Regions from separate parts of the Homo sapiens genome. Here region 1 is linked to region 2. The links are contacts of gene promoters, found by promoter capture Hi-C in human tissues and cell types (Jung and others, 2019). All regions are on one chromosome and are shown on one strand. The core of a region is centred on a gene start or on the middle of the fragment in contact, and the rest is flanking DNA. Distances in the headings are between cores, read along the strand shown. Region 1 has its middle 130 kb from the start of MIR2114. Region 2 holds the start of MTM1 (myotubularin 1).

Region 1 (2,700 bases), core at 19-2,518, 470 kb before region 2:
TAGGCAAATCTGTTAACCTTTCCTTGTAATTCCCAGGAGCACTGAGGAATTGTTCGGGGATGATATCCTTGGATGCACTTCAGACTTCATGGATTTTATGTTCTCTCTGATATTTCTTGTATCAGGGAGCTGAGAGGAATTGGTCTCTGAACTGATATTAATTTCTTTGTTTATTTCAAGTCCAGACAAAGAAGAGCACTGATTGGCCCTGTCCTCACAAAGCTGCAGAAGGTATTTGGCACAACCTCAAATCTGGGAGGGGCCTACCAGTTCCAAAATCCTATGTCCAGTTCAGGAATCCCCTTTCAAGAATTAATTTTGTGTTTAAATATCTCTAGGAACATGCTGCTCACTTCTTCCTAAGGCACCTGTGCCAGTTTCAGACAGTGCCAATCATTTGGAAAGTTTTCCTTCTTCTGAGCTGAAATTTATCTCCCCAAAATGTCTAACCCACATAGTCCTGGATCTGTCCTCTGTATGCACTTTCCAAATACGGCTACCATGGACCCCTCATCTTCTTGTCTCAGGGCTTATCATTAATTCGTCTTATGTCGTGATTCCAAGACCCTTCACCATCCTGTTCTCCCTCTGTTTTTTACCAGTTTCTTCCCATATATCTCATTCTGTAACCCATCTGGAATAAATTAGATTGTTCAGGGAGAGGTAAAGATTTAAGTGAATCTCCCTTCAGGTTAACATCCATACTCCCCCAGAGTACTTGCTAAATAAGCTTTCATTTCCCTGTGGTTTTCTTTTACCAGGTTTGGTTCTATTTCTAAAATAGATTTCACACGTAGCTTTACCTTTCCTTTTTAACCCCAGATTCTGTATCTTTTTTTTTTTTTGTGGATGCTGTAACAAAGTACCACAAACTTAGTGGCTTAAAGCAACACACATTTATCATCTTTCAATTCTGGAGGTCAGAAGTCTAAAATGGGTCTCACGAGGCTAAAGTCAAAGTGTTGGCAGGGATGCAGTCCTTCTGGAGTCTCTAAGAGAGAGCCCATTTCTTTGCTTTTTCTGGCTTCTAGAGGCTGCCCCCATTCCTTGGTTTGTGGCCCCTTCCTCCATCTTCAAGGCAAGTATCATAGCATCTTCAGATTTCAATTACCCCCACGCTTGCTGACTCTCTCTGACTCTGCTTCCATCATGACATCACCTACTCTTACTCTGACCCTCCCTTATGCCTCCTGCTTTTACTTATAAGAACCCTGAATCCAGGGTTACATTGGACCCACCTGGATAATCCAGAATGATCTCATTCCAACGTATAAATCCAAAATATAAATCTGCCAAGTCCCTTTTTCCTTGTAAGGTCACATATTCACAGGTTCCAAGGATTAGGACGTGGACATCTTTGGGAGGGACTGTTATTCTGCCTACCTCAGATTCCTTCTGCCTGCAAGGCCATTAGCCAAACAAACTTACCTGACTACTGATAGATTCAGCTGGGGGTTCCACTCCCATGTGCCCACCTAGGCCCTGGCTTCCCTGAAAGAGGGGTATTGCATTTTTTCGGAGAAAGTGGTGAAGCGAAAGCCACTTTGGGGCACAGATTCAGTCCTTTATGTGGAATTTGAAGCATCTCATTCCTGGAAACTCTTCATTCAGGTCTAACATGAGCCTGGCATGGGTAAGAGTTCAGTGAATGAATGACTGGCTGACTAGATAAATGAGTGACCTTCTTCCGTGTCTAGCCCCACCATCATATTTGTATAATCTTTCCACAGTTAGTTAGTGTGTCTTGGTTCTCTCTTCAGAAATGGTTGATGGTGCCCCTGCATGTGCAGATGTAATCCCAGACTCTTCAGCCCAGCCTAGTCAAGCACTCCCCCATCTGACCCTAGCTTGCTGGTCCAGCTTCACCTCTTACTGCACTCATCCACGTGCTCTGCCCTCTAGCCTCACTGGCCTGAGCCGGAATAGTAGCAACAAGCATGTGCAGAGTGCTTGCCCAGTTCCAGGCCATGTTCTGAGGGCTTTATGTACATTAACTCACTTAACCCTTGCCACAACCCTATAGGCAGGTACTCATGACTTTCATGGGAGTCTAGAAGAGGTTCCATGACCCACTGAAGTTTAAGAACCTCTGATCTAGAGAATTTCCTCTAGGTGGAAAGTGGGTGGAGCCTGGTTGAGTGTCAGCTCCCCTATCTCCTGTGGGGCCTGCACTGAGCCAGCACAGGGCATGGGGCTCTGAGACCTAAAGACCCAACAGTTATGGGGCTCCTTAGCGGGGTACCAGAGACACTGATCTGGGACGAGCCCACACTGCAGTGCAGGATGACCTATTGCTACCCTGACTATGGAGACTAGGGGAAAGGACAGCAGGGGTGGGGGAAGGGTGTGTGGTGAGGGCAGGAGATAGTCAAGGCATAGTTGATGAGGTCAGGGCAGTAAGACAAAGGCACAGAGGATATAGGACAGAGTAACAGAGAACATTTTGAGAGGTGGTCTATTACAATTGTTAAAATCATAGACTCCGAAGCCAAACTGCCAAAGTTGGAATCCTGGCTCTGCTCACTGCTTATTAGCCATGGACCCAAGTAGGTTACTGTACTGCTCCAATCCTGTTTTCTTATTTGATTTGTAAAATAGAGATAGTTATGCAGTCATGCTTCACTTAAATACAGGGATACATTCTGAGAAATGTGTCATTGGGCAATTTTGTCCTTGTGTGAACATCCTATAGTGATTTAC
Region 2 (2,700 bases), core at 75-2,574:
CAATAAAGCATATATATATGCATATATAAATGATATATGAATATATGTGTATATGTGTGTGACTATGTAGAAACACACGTACACATATACACTGGTATCAGGTAAAATGCTGTTTTTAGATGCTGGAGAACTAACACATACAAGAGAAAAAAAACAGGTCATGATAAAGTCATCCTATTTACTCGAACTGCTCGCGTATAAGTATTATGCAGTACAAAGAATATTATGCTCATTTTTCTATGTGCCAGGTTGTCTTTTCTTTTTTTAATTTTTTTGACACGCAGTCTCGCTTTGTCACACAGGCTGGAGTGCAGTGGTGCCATCTCAGCTCACTGCAACCTCTCCCTCCCGGGTTCAAGCGATTCTCTTGCCTCAGCTTCCCGAGCAGCTGGTATTACAGACACCTGCCACCACGCCTGGATAATTTTTGTATTTTTAGTAGAGACGAGGTTTCACCATGTCGTCCAGGCTGGTCTCGAACTCCTGACCTCAGGTGATCCGCCTGCGTTGGCCTCCCAAAGTGCTAGGATTACAGGCGTGAGCCACCGCGCCCGGCCCAGATTGTTTGTTTTATTTGATTACACAATGAATTCTCTTCTTGAAGTTTGCCTTTCTTCTCTTTTTCCTGTCCCTTTCTTTTTACTGTATCAATAGTTGTCTGACCCAAACCTCAACAAGTAGAAGGAATTTTGGACTGAAATGTTTCCGTTCACTAAGTCTCAATTGCGTTCTTGGAAAGGTGCTGGCACAGCTGAGGGACACCCCAGCTGTTAGTTGAGTTTGTGAATTGCAGATCCTGCCCCAGAGTCAGTGAAATTTCTTTTTCCCTTATACTATCTCAACTTTACGCAGCCAACCCTGTGTACCCAATAATAGCTCAATTTAGTGGCATCCGCTAAAGTCTTGTATAGAGAAGTTTTCCCTCTGGATTTCCCCTTTACTGAAGAAAAATGGGGAGACCCAGACAAGGGTCCCGGGACTACGCTTCCCAGCCGCCTCCGCCCGGCGCCCAGTCCAACTTCCCTTACAGGGATGGCCCCTGGCATCTTGGCCCCGCCCATCCCCAGCACCATATTGCGAACTACAATTCCCAGCTGCCTCCATGCGTCGGACCCTTCAAAATGGGCTTCCCAGCAGCCTCTCGGGCGAAGAGCCCCGCCCTTCGGAGCTGCTCCCCAGGTCGACCCGGCGCACTCTTCCTGCCCCCTGCCCCGTCACGTGATGCAGTCCCGCCAACCGGCACGGGGAGGCGGGCAGCGGGCGGTGGCCGGGGGCGGGCAGGCCGTGGGGGGCGGACCCCAGAGGGGGCGGAGCAGGGCCCGGCAGCCGAGCAGCCTGGCAACGGCGGTGGCGCCCGGAGCCCGAGGTGGGTGCGCGCTCACGGCTGGCCTGGCTCGGAGCCGGGCACTGCGGGGACCCGTGGTGAGGGGATCGGGAGGAGGAAGTTGGGACTCCTTGGGCCAGCGGGTCGCGCGGGGCCTTGCCGCACCGTCAGGGTTGGGTGGGGGTTTCGTCCAAGCGCCGTCGCTGTCCCCGCGGGGCAGGGCTGAGGCCAGGGAGCAGCAGGCAGGTACCTCCGGCTTCCTCCCGTTCTCCCCGCCCAAGGTGGCCGGCCGGCGGCGGGCGAAGGTCGGGACGGGGGTAGGGGTTGGCTGGCCGTGGAGCTGGGGGCGGACGTCTCAGCCACTGCCTGGACTTTGCTTCCCCGTCCCGGGGCGGTGAGTGGGCCGGGCGTCCGCCCTGCCTCCCCGGCGACGCTCCGCGGCTGGTCCTCGCCTTGGCCCTCCGCACGGAGCGGGCGTCCGTCGCATCCCCGGTGGGCCCTGCGGAGCGGCCGCAGCCCGGCACTGGCCGCGAAGCCTCGATGGCCGCTCTCGGCCAGTGTTTCTGTGTCATACACGAGAGGTTTATCTGCTTTTGCAACAGTTGAGGGAAGATCTTAGAGGGAACGGTTAGTTCCCTGATACGCAGTCGGAAGTATGTACAGGCACGAGCAAGCGCCCGTGGCCGGGTTGCCTCCCTTAACTGTCTTTTGCTGCGCTCAGGAAGTGAAAACTAATTTTAGTATTTGCCTAAGCAAGTAAGAAGTGAATCTGCTGCAAAAATTATATTAGAGCTTTATAGACGCACGCATCGTTTGAGGCGAAGTGGGTTGCGACTGGTTTTGAAACAGATACACCAGATCTTCACAAGAATAAAATTATAGCATTTTAGAATTGACTGGCATCCTGAAGTTTACATTGTTCATTTGTTTCCTGGATGGGGGAACTGAGGCCCAGAGAGGGTAACTAATATGTCCCGGGCTTCAGGGCAACTTAATGGCAAAGCTAATATCACAAGCCAGCTCTTTGGGGGTATCTTGGTGTCTGTCTAGTCTGGATTCTTTTTACCACAGCTCAGTATTATTCCTTGTGAAATAAGCACCTTAGAGTCTTGAGACTGAGCCAGCAATTTTGCTAGACTGCAAACCATTTTGAATTTCCTTCAAAATCGGTTTACCAACCAAATAAGACAATCAGGCCTGTTACTTTGCAGACACGTTTGCCTTCATCCAACATATATATTGGGCACGATCATGTATTCACCAGATTTGATTCTGAATGGCTTTTGGCTGCTTCACAAAATCAAATCTACTTTTCAGAGATTCCACACCATGGGGGAGATTTGAACCAGTGGTGCTGCCTGCAGCACCAGTGTATA

The links. The method cuts DNA at HindIII sites, captures the fragments that hold promoters and counts their contacts. A contact is called where the count stands out against the background at its distance.
Region 1: a fragment that was not itself captured here is called in contact with the fragment with the promoter of MTM1 in region 2 in 1 of the 25 tissues and cell types used here (adrenal gland).

Annotation. Positions count from the first base shown.
Region 1 is chrX:150,096,070-150,098,769 of GRCh38, forward strand. No RefSeq gene overlaps it. Among named protein-coding and RNA genes, the nearest start is that of MIR2114, 130 kb to the right of the region's middle. The HindIII fragment of the contact is 6,940 bases long and covers 1-2,700 here.
Region 2 is chrX:150,567,297-150,569,996 of GRCh38, forward strand. MTM1 (myotubularin 1) reads left to right here and starts at 1,325. Exons shown (of 15, transcript NM_000252.3): 1 at 1,325-1,366. RefSeq lists a silencer at 1,127-1,806. The HindIII fragment of the contact is 11,680 bases long and covers 1-2,700 here.